4 separate regions of the Homo sapiens genome follow, and regions 1, 3 and 4 are each linked to region 2. The links are contacts of gene promoters, found by promoter capture Hi-C in blood cells and fetal thymus (Javierre and others, 2016). All regions are on one chromosome and are shown on one strand. Each heading gives the region's core, a stretch centred on a gene start or on the middle of the fragment in contact. The rest is flanking DNA. Distances are from core to core; before and after follow the strand shown.

Region 1 (2,700 bases), core at 39-2,538, 490 kb after region 2:
ACTCTTACCTCCTTTCTTACTTTTTATAACAGTATAGTTATCTGAATAGGTTCAGCAAGAATCTTTTCTCTTTTTTGCCAGGATATAACAGAAAAACAGTTACACAACCAAGGTGTGGGCCAGAATGTCACTTTTGAGAATGGTGCTCCTTTAATCAGCTTTGATGAGCCAATGCCTACAAAATCCTCTCAGAAAAACCCACCTGGGATCTGGCTTACAGAGTCCCAGTCTTGCAGGAGGTGAGGAAGGTCACTTCCTAGTTCTTGGTTCCTTACCTTCTTGGCAGGTAAGAAACTTCAAGAAAATATGAGAAACTTGAGAAGAAAGAAATTCATCCAAATGTATAGGTACTGTGGGTAAAAATCTAGTGGAAAGAGATTCTTGAGCTTGGTTTTTCTAACCTCACAACAGCAAATAATAGAGGCTTTTAAAAGTCAGTCTGAGATTTCTTAAGGAAACTTCTAGAAAGAAGTTCATTCTGTGGCCTTGTGAATAGTATATGGCTCTAGATTTACGAAGCAAACTTAAGAAGGCCTATATGGTAAATAAAACTCTTCCACCTGTGGAAATAATCAGGCCAAACCGTCAGGATTGCCCTTTTACTTATCTTCCAGCACACTGAGCTGAGAGCTTCCTATGCCATCTCTCTTCTTGTCCTCAGTGCCAAGCAAAGTGTGTGGAACAATGAAGGTAGTCAACAACATTTATGAGAAGAATAAATATCAGGTTGTGAAATAGCTTTCGCACCTGATTCCAACTGTGAGGCGGCAATGGAGAGCCAGGGAGGCAGGCAGAGGCACTGAACTCATCAAGCTTGGTTTCCTCTGCCCAGCCTCAAGTTGTACCATGGGGAGACAGAGACTCCATTAAAAATAAACTCACAATTAACTTTAAAATACTGCAGCAATAAACAAATAAGTAAAAATAACAAAATAAGGAGAAGAGATGAAACAAGATGAGCAAAATGTTGATTACTGTTGAAGCTGCATGTAATGGGCACTTGGGGATTAAATCATATGCTTCTTTCTAATTTCAGTGCATGTTTAAAAATTTCCATAATGGAAAGGAGAAGAAAGGAAAGGAAAAGGAAGGGAAAGGTAAAGGAAAGGAAAAGGAAGGGAAAGGAAGGGAGGGGAGAGCAGGGAGAGGAAGGAAGAGGAGGGGAGGAAAGGGCAAGGGAAAGGGAGGGGAAGGGAGGGAAAAGGGAGAAGCGGGGAGGGGAGCGGAGGGGAAGGAAGGGAAGGGAGAAAGGAAAGAAAAGAAAAGAAGAAAAGAAAAAGAAAGGAAAGGGGAAAGGACAGGAAAGAGGAAAGGAGAAAGGAAAGGAAAAAGGAATGAAAAAAAAGAAAGAACAGGAAAGGAAAGGAAACTTGAAGGGGAAGGAAATTACAAAAAGGAAGTCTGCTGGCTTTGTAAGGAAGGGGGTAATGAGTAAGTTCAGGCAGTTTTGTTTCATTTTGGGTATTTGCACCAGTATTCGAGGTGTCCCAATCAGAGTGACTCATCTTGAATAAAGGCCAGATGAAGCCAAACCTGCTGGGTTACTTTCCCAGGAAATTGGGCACTGTTAATCACAAAATGTTTATGGTTGAGGAAATGAGTTGATGGAAAAAGGCATTCTTAGTTTAAAAATGGGTTTCTTGGATGGCATGGTGGCTCACACCTGTAATCCCAGCACTTCAGGAGGCCAAGGCAGTTAGATTGCTTGATCTCAGGAGTTCAAACCAGCCATGGGCAATGTCAGGCGTCTGAGCCCAAGCTTGCACGTGTAAGTATCCGGATGGCCTGAAGCAACTGAAGAATCACAAAAGAAGTGAAAACAGTCGATTCCTTCCTTAACTGATGACATTACCTTGTGAAATTCCTTCTCCTGGCTCAGAAGCTCCCCTACTGAGCACCTTGTGACCCCCACCCCTGCCCGCCAGAGAACAATCCCCTTTGACTGTAATTTTCCACTACCTACCCAAATCCTATAAAACAGCCCCACCCCATCTCCCTTTGCTGACTCCTTTTTTGGACTCAGTCCGCCTGCACCCAGGTAATTAAAAAGCTTTATTGCTCACACAAAGCCCGTTGGTGGTCTCTTCACACGGACACACGTGACAGGCAACATGGTAGAATCCTATCTCTATAAAAAAATAAAAATAAAAATTAGCTGGGCATGGAGACTGAGGTGAGAGAATCCAGAGGATCAAAGAGGATCGAGTCAAGGAGGTGGAGGCTACAGTGAGCCAAGATCGCACCACTGCACTCCAGCCTGGGCGACAAGAGTGAAATTCTGTCTTAAAAAAAAAGGTGGGTGGGAGGGTTTCTTGTGGTGGTGAAGGTGTAAGCAAATAAACACATAAAAATAAACATGGGTTTCACTTTAAAGATAATACTACACTCATAAATTATTGCTGAAATCAATAGTTACACCGGAGAATAACAATACTAATAGCCTGTCACAACTTGATCACAAGCCTTTATAATAAAGTAAACTATTCTTTTTTTTTTTTTTTTTTTTTTTTTTGAGATGGAGTCTGGCTCTGTTGCCCAGACTGAAGTGCAGTGGCGCAATCTCGGTTCACTGCAAGCTCCGCCACCCGGATTCATGCCATTCTCCTGCCTTAGCCTCCCGAGTAGCTGGGACTACAGGTGCCCACCACCATGCCCGGCTAATTTTTTGTATTTTTAGTGGAGATGGGGTTTCACCGTGTT
Region 2 (2,700 bases), core at 113-2,612:
GGGAATGCAAGATGAATAAATGGTAGTGTCAAGGAGCTCACAATCATGAAACTAACTTGATGAATTATATTTACCCTCTTATCCCAGAAGAGGGTTTCAGTACTGGGCAGGGACCATCCAGGGACTTTATTTTACCTGAATAAAAACTTAGAAGGTCCTAATCCAGTGGACTTGCAGAAAAAAATAAATATCTAGATTTTAACAGTATATTGGTAGCCAGGCGCGGTGGTTCATGCCTGTAATCCTAGCACTTTGGGAGGCCAAGGTGGGCGGATCACCTGAGGTCAGAAGTTCGAGACTAGCCTGGCCACCATGATGAAACCCCGTCTCTACTAAAAATACAAGTAGCCGGGTGTGGTGGTGCACGCCTGTAATCCCAGCTACTGAAGAGGCTGAGGCAGGAAAATCACTTAAACCCGGGAGGCGGAGGTTGCAGTGAGCCGAGATCGAGCATTACACTTCAGCCTGGGTGACAGAGCAAGACTCTGTCTCAAAGCAAAAACAAAACAACAAAACAAACAAACAAACAAAAAACAGTATACTGGGACATTCTGACCTTTACCTAAGCAATCTCTAAAATAATCTACCTTCTTTTAGTAAGGCATCATTGTAACAACTGCTGCTCTGGTTAGAAAGTCAAATAAGAGACTTCAGTATCTGAGAGATTGTAGAATTATTTCTTACTCTTCATTTCTAACCGATATTTCAATCTCGCCCACTTTTTAATTATTCTTAAGTCCTACCTGGGTTTTCCAGGAATTTTTTCTCAAGATGCCTAGCCCGTCTTTGCAACTCCTCTGGCTCTACAGGCAAATGTCTGCTCCAGAGATAACTGGTCAGTGTTTGCACCTGATTCTCCATAGTGGGCCCAGCGCTCCCTATGGGCCAAAGACGAAAAGCGGAATCACTTGCATGTAGGTCCAGTCCCGTTTCTTCTCGCTTTCCCGCCGTTACTCACCAAGTAGCAATAACTGGGCACCGTTAGCCAGTGCCTGTGGCAGCCGCACGTGCGGCAGCTTTAGGATGCCAGGGTGCTGGCGATGAGGCCTCTTCTGCAGGAAACCGGACTTGTTATCTACCTGGGTCACTCCGGGTACTAAGGCGGCGAGCGCCTGCAGGCAGAGAAAGGTAGGTTGATTTCCTGGCAGAAAGGAAAGTTGCTGGCAATCGCTAGGGCGGGGGCTGCCAGGAGCGCTCCTCCTCTGCGCGGAGATGTCTCTGCAGATCCAGAGTCTCTCCGACAGCAGGGAATGTAGGCACTCACCCGGGCCTGGGGAGCCACTCCAAGGCCGGGGCACCATCTTCCTAATGTCAGTAGACACTTCAGTGCCGCCGCCATGGCTCCGGAGGCGAACCGGAAACGGAAATACAGGTGCCTGTGACCCTCAGTCCCAACGCCGCAAGGAGCAGCCTTCGCAGAACTTCTCCCGACAGTTTCAGCCAACGAGAAGAGCGAGTGTTTGCCAGCAGCCAATAAGCAATGGTTATATAAATAATCCTTGAGGCAGAAACCGTGTTTGGGCCGACTTGAAGGCTGCGTTGGGCCTGGTCACCGGCCCCAGAAATCAAGAGGGTGGGGTGGGGCGGGGCGGGACGGGACGGGGGCGGGATGGGGTTGGGTGTGAGCGCGCCAGCAAAGACTGTTTCTGGGAGTACTGACTTCCTGTGTTCTTTGCATTCCTCCGCGGAGAACTCTGAGTCTTGGGTTGTTTCCCTGTGTGAAAAAGGGAGACTGCAGTAACGGAAAGAAGAGAAAAATCAGATTTAAGCGACTGAAGAAAACAGAAATTAATAGTTAAATGATTATTGAATAGTTAATAGTTTGATAAATATTAAACCTAGTTAATAGGTTTATTTATTTTTTTACATTTGTTAATTTCTCTTCAAATGAGACCAGTCTTCTTAGTAAGCTAACATAACACTTACTGAGAACACCTATGTGCTAGGTACTTCAGGGAAAAGGACTGATCCCCACTTCACAGAAAACATGGTTCTGACGGGGACCCTCCTGTGTCTGCTGCTACGTCAGAGTGTTTCCCCCAGGCCCAGGACTTAGACAGTAGCCGTCTGATTACCTGAGGTGCAGAATCTCAGGTGGGTCCAGCCACTATTGTGACGTGATAATATAGCATAGGGGAATGGTCTCCAGAGTCTGCAAGCTCATCAACACCTTCATTCACTAGAGCATCAGAAGGATAAATGGCATATGCAAGGCGATATCTACTTTCGGGACCTGACAGTGGACAACTGCTACCTCAGTCTCCGAACACTTGAGCTCACCCAGTGTGTGATTTCTGTGGGCTCCTGGCCCCCTAATTTCCGTTACAGGTTTAGGATGTTCTCCCAGCACATCCACTTGACCTGTGTGTGGAACCAGCCAGTTCATCTGGAGGGCTAGACTCCTGAGTCATCAGGCTAGGGCCTGATGATCTCAGGCCCCAGCGCCCTAATTGGACTTTCCTTCTGTGGTTCTCTACCTTATTCGACTTCTTCCCCAAATCTGCAGACCTCACCGACTGCAGCCTGCCAGCTCTCTCAGGGCTCCTCATCTCGGGGTGAGGTGGGGTGAGGAGACATGGGTGGACAGGGGGAGAAGGGCCGCTCTGCCTCTTCCAGGCGGAACCGCCCTTCCTGTAGATGAATGCATGGCCCACTGACACATCCTAGGCTGACACTTGCCTCTTTTCCAGCTTTTCCTCA
Region 3 (2,700 bases), core at 1-2,500, 340 kb after region 2:
ATCATTAGCATGTAAGGCTGGAGCCCTCATGAACGAAATTAGTCTTCTTATAAGAAGAGGCCACAGAGCTAGCTAGCTTTTTTTCCTCCATGTGAGGGCACAGAAAGAAGACTGCCCTCTATAAACCAGAAAGAGCCCCACCAAGAACCCCATCATGCTGGCTCTGGGATATCAAATTTCCAGCCTCTAGAATGGTGAGAAACAAATGTTTGTTGTTTACCTATTTATGGTAATTTGTTATAGCAGCCTGAACAAAGACATCCTCTTACTACGAGACTTGGTAATAGCACTCTGTCTTGTTTTCCTATGTGTTAAAAAAGAAAAAGAAAAAGGAAGAAAAGGAAAAAAGGTTAAGTTTTATATTAAAGAATTTGTCATAATGAAAAAGATAGGTTCTGAAATCTGTTAACTCAATCAAATCTCCATAGGCCCAGCACGGTAGCTCATGTCTGTGGTACCAGCATTTTGGGAGGCTGAGGCAGTGGATCACTTGAGGTCAGGAGATTGAGACCAGCCTGGCCAACATGGTGAAACCCCCTCTCTACTAAAAATACAAAAATTAGCCGGTCCTGGTGGCTCATGCCTGTAATCCCAGCTACTCACGAGGCTGAGGCAAGAGAATCGCTTGAACCCGGGAGGCGAAGGCTGCAGTGAGCCGAGATAGCGCCGCTGCACTCCAGCCTGGGTGACAGAGGGAGACTCAACCTCAAAGAAAAACAAAAAAAACAAAAACAAAAAAACTTATTCTAGACTGTGATTCTGTGTTTATGTGTGTTTCTATATTGCCTCCACTCCTTTTGAACCAGAAGGCAGGTTGTTGCTGAGAAAGTTAAGTTCCTCTTGGAATTGGTAGTTCATTATAGTTTTACATTTTCTGGCTCTGAGTAGCCCACATGGTATTTGACATTCTCCAGTGGCTGGCTGGTTAATTTTGTGGAACTAGAGTTTCCATATTCAGGGAAGTATTTCACACCTTTATTAATTTTTAACTGGGAAAATCGTATTCTAAAAATTTAGAGTTTTCTTGAAATAGATGCTTGATTTTCACTACATATTTCTGAGGCTTTTTATTATGAAACATTTCAAACATATTAAAAATAGAGAGAATAGTATAATGAACCACAGTTATAGCTGACATATAGCTCCATGAATTCCCAGTTCATGGCCAAGAAAGTTTTATCTATAGCCCTCACTTTATTTTGAAGAAAATTCCAGATATCATTTCATTTTACTTTAGCTCATTTTTATTTACAAAGTGTCAATTAGATTTTTTGATACAGTTTCCATTACAATATGATTTTTACTTGTAAGGAAAATTGAAGCTAAAGAGATATCAAACAATGATTAAAGCAGACATGTAATTCAAGAATGTTGCAACTCATTCATTCAATAGATGTGTCATTCTAGTAGTCTTCTTGGTTTATACATTTTTCTTTTGTTCTTTATTTTCTGACAGGGAAGGTTTTCCAGGGGAAAAGAAGAAACAAGGTGCAGAACTGTGTAAGAAAGTGTCAAGTAAATAAGTAAACATTTAGTTATTTCCTTGTTTATACACAAAAAACACTGGAAGGAGGCCAATGAACTAATGAAAATGGTTAATTAGGCGAGGGGGATGGGGTGAATAGGAATGTGGGGGACTAGAACTTTTCAATTTATACATTTTTATTTTTGAACCATGTGAGTATGCTTTAAAAATAAATACAATTTTTTCTTCTAACATGGTTTACTTTCATTAAAAAAAACTAGGAAATTCCTATGATCAAGTTAGTTTGAAAGTATTATAAGTGGTCGGTTGCGGTGGCTGATGCCTGTAATCCCAGCACTTTGGGAGGCCGAGGCGGACGGATCACTTGAGGCCAGGAGTTGAGACTGGCCTGGTCAACATGGTGAAACCCTGTCTCTACTAAAACTCCAAAAATTAGCTGGGCGTGGTGGCAGACACCTATAATCCCAGCAACTCGGGAGGTTGAGGCAGGAGAATCACTTGAACCCGGAAGACGGAGGTAGCAGTGAGCCGAAAGTGTTCCACTGCACTCTAGCCTGGGCGGCAACAGAGCAAAAACACTGTATCAAAAAAAAGAAAAAGTATTATAAGCTAAATACCAAAGCCAATGTCAACTGGTCAAATAGCGTTTTTTGTTTTGTTTTGTTTTGTTTTGTTTTGTTTTGTTTTTGATACAGAGTCTTGCTCTGGAGTGTAGTGGCACTATCTTGGCTCACTGCAACCTCCACCTTCCAGGCTCAAGCCATCCTCCTACCTCAGTCTCCCTAGTACTTGGGAATACAGGTGGGCACCACCAGGCCCAGCTAATTTTTGTATTTTTAGTAGAGATGAGGTTTCGCCATATTGGCCAGGCTAGTCTCAAACTCCTGGCCTCTGGTGATCCACCAGCCTTGGCCTCCCAAAGTGCTGGGATTACAGGCCTGAGCCACTGAGCCCAGCCTGTGTGCTTGTTTGTTTTAAACAAATTGTCTGTCTTTGATCTCATCTATTTCTGCAGTTTCCTTAGTCCTTAAGATTTGATTAAGGTTTAAAAACACGTGTGGCTTGGCCGGGCGTAGTGGCTCATGCCTGTAATCCCAGCGCTTTGGGAGGCCGAGGCAGTGGATCACCTGAGATCAGGAGTTCAAGACCAGCCTGGCCACCATGGTGAAACCCCGTCTCTACTAAAAATACAAAAATTAGCCGCGTGTGGTGGC
Region 4 (2,700 bases), core at 84-2,583, 280 kb after region 2:
TAGCTGGAATAATCAGCCTGCTTCAATAATGAATAGCCTCACCCTTTGATTTATTCAGTATCTAGCCGTATCCTTGCTTAAGAAACCCAGGGGCTAATCTTGAAATAAACCGGGCATGAATTTGAGATTGTGGAATCCTACATTCTCAGAAAAATCACTGAGGGGGGTTAATCCATAAGCTAGTTGCAGTCATGGTGATGCCAGCCAGACCTCCAGGTGATCCGTTACTGAAGATAGCCATCAGAGTAAGACATGCAAACCTGCACCCTGCACCACTCCTGCTCATAGTTTCCATGCCTCCTACTTCTTAAAATCCCTTTAGCTAGCCTAAAATTTTGAAATAGTCTTTGAGGCGCTAGTCCACCATCTCCTCAGGTTGCTAGCTCTTGAATAAACCTGCTTTTCCTGCACCAACTCTTGTCTTGCAAGTCTTGCTTTTGAGCAGTGAGCAGTGATCAGCTGACCCTTAGTTTGGTTACACTATCACTCAGGAAATTCCAAGCATTTTAGAAGGTCTGTGGCAGGAACCAGGAACTAAGTTCAAATTTATTTTTTATTATACCACAGGTCCCAACTCCCATGACTACCTGGATGGTGACAAAGACGAATTATCTCTTCATCCTTCTTTCTCACTCTAAATATACACAGACATGCTATTAGGAGGGAAAACTTTCCCTCTACCAACTTTGGTTCAGTGGGTGGGAGCCTGTGAATTAACTATAGACAGGTTAGCAGGGGGAAAGAAAACAAGTTGTATTCATAACTTGTGGAAGCATTCAGATGAAGAGGCTTGATGAAGAGCTAGAGACAGAAGTTTAGTTATCAACTCATAGGGGAAAAGAAGGAGGGAGAAATGACTTCTATAGGAAAACAAATGACTTTTGGGAAAGACAAATAGAAGCTTTGGATAAAGTTTTACACAATTTTCTTGGAATATCTCCTGTCTGGGTGAAGTAATCCTCACACGGTTAACAAGAATCCTGGACAAAAATATAATTATGAGTAAGTGTTAATCAGGCTACACTTTGACCCACTTCCTTGTAACCAAAACTCACGAACACTAGCTACTGATAATTTGCATTCTCATTGTTCCCATAGATAAGATCTTTGACATTAGAATCATAAGGCTTTTGTTTAAGAATTGTTTATGCAGATCCTGAATTCCGGCAGAACAGCTGACACCACCAACTTTAAAGAGCCCAACTGATGAACTGATCAGCATGAGAATACTGTTTTTTCATCTCTCTGTCCCATGACTTCACTCTGCATTCTTCAACCAATTAGTGATCTCTTATTTCCACCTACTCCAAATCCTTAAAAACAACAGCCTCAAACTCTTTGAGGAAATGGATTTGAGGTTTCCTTCCATCTTTTGGTTCAGCAGCCCTGCAATTAAACCTCTTTCTCTGCTGCAACCCAGTGTCTTGGCATATTGACATGCTGTGCACATCAGGCAAAAGACCTATTACCATTACATGAGGACCCCTCCGGAGGGAGATAATGGTGGGGGCATTTCTGGGAGGCTCTGCTTTAGTCAGGTGAGAGAAGTTCAGGTAAGATTTCTTTCTGTATCTGCTGTAATTCAAATGTTTTCAGTTTTGTCAGTTTTGCCCTTAAACATGTGCACACACACACACACACACACACACACACACACTCACACTTCCCTTCTTAAGCAGCTAGCATCTTCATATATCTCTGCTCCTGTCATGTGCGTCCATGTGAAGAGACCACCAAACAGGCTTTGTGTGAGCTATAAAGCTTTTTAATCACCTGGGTGCAGGCAGACTGAGTCCGAAAAAGGAGTCAGCAAAGGGAGATGGGGTGGGGCAGTTTTATAAGATTTGGGTAGGTAGTGGAAAATTACAGTCAAAGTGGGTTATTCTCTTGCAGGCAGGGGCAGGGGTTACAAGGTGCTCAGTGGGGAGGTTCTGAGACTCATTGTCTAGGAGAAGGAATGTCACAAGGTTAATTGATCAGTTAAGGTGGGGCAGGAACAAATCACAATGGTGGAATGTCATCAGTTAAGGCAGGAACTGGCTATTTTCACTTCTTTTGTGGTTCTTCAGTTGCTTCAGGCCATCTGGATGTATACTTGCAGGCTTGGGCTCAGAGGTCTGACATTTCCTGTCTTCTTATATTAATAAGAAAAACAAAACAAAATAGTGGTGAGGTGTTGGAGCGGCAAAAATTTTGGGGGGTGGTATGGAGAGATAATGGGCAATGTTTCTCAGGGCTGCTTCAAGTGGGATTAGGGGCAGCATGGGAACCTAGGGTGGGAGAGATTAAACTGAAGAAAGATTTGGGCATCAAGGGTGATATTGTGGGGTTGTTAGAAGGAGCATTTGTCATACAGAATGATTGATGATGGCCTGAATGCAGTTTTGTATGAATTGAGAAACTGATCAGAAGACACAAGGTCTAAATAAGAGAAGGAGAAAAGCATGTATTAAAGGACTAAAAATTGGGAGGGCTCAGGACATCCAATTAGAGAGTGCCTAAGGGGGTTCAGCATAATTATTTGCTTGGTTGGTGAGTTTTTGGGCGCTATCCTTGAGTTTTTTTTATGTTGTCATATACTAGGCCAGAGTGATTTTGGTAGAAACAACACTCTTCATTTAAAAATATACAGAGTCCCCCTTTTTCAGCAGTGAGTAAGTCAAGGGCATATTCCTGTCTTCTTATATTAATAATAAGAAA

What was found. Contacts are between HindIII fragments. The CHiCAGO score rates a contact against its expected background, and 5 or more counts as called.
Region 1: a fragment that was not itself captured here is called in contact with the fragment with the promoter of METTL17 in region 2 in 1 of 17 cell types (M0 macrophages); the score reaches 5.2 in M0 macrophages.
Region 3: a contact is called between a fragment that was not itself captured here and the fragment with the promoter of METTL17 in region 2, in 1 of 17 cell types (monocytes). The highest score is 5.5, in monocytes.
Region 4: a fragment that was not itself captured here is called in contact with the fragment with the promoter of METTL17 in region 2 in 12 of 17 cell types (monocytes, M2 macrophages, M0 macrophages and 9 more); the score reaches 15.9 in monocytes.

Annotation. Positions count from the first base shown.
Region 1 is chr14:20,494,177-20,496,876 of GRCh38, reverse strand. No RefSeq gene overlaps it. Among named protein-coding and RNA genes, the nearest start is that of RNASE10, 10 kb to the left of the region's middle. The HindIII fragment of the contact is 946 bases long and covers 816-1,761 here.
Region 2 is chr14:20,988,642-20,991,341 of GRCh38, reverse strand. METTL17 (methyltransferase like 17) reads right to left here and starts at 1,362. Exons shown (of 14, transcript NM_022734.3): 1 at 1,265-1,362; 2 at 959-1,112; 3 at 744-878. The coding sequence starts at 1,339. RefSeq lists an enhancer at 786-835 and a silencer at 1,586-1,715. The HindIII fragment of the contact is 15,587 bases long and covers 1-2,700 here.
Region 3 is chr14:20,646,703-20,649,402 of GRCh38, reverse strand. No RefSeq gene overlaps it. Among named protein-coding and RNA genes, the nearest start is that of TRY-GTA5-3, 5.1 kb to the left of the region's middle. The HindIII fragment of the contact is 5,518 bases long and covers 1-2,700 here.
Region 4 is chr14:20,705,585-20,708,284 of GRCh38, reverse strand. It overlaps EGILA (EGFR interacting lncRNA), which reads left to right and starts at 1,344. Exons shown (of 4, transcript NR_174964.1): 1 at 1,344-1,538. The HindIII fragment of the contact is 860 bases long and covers 904-1,763 here.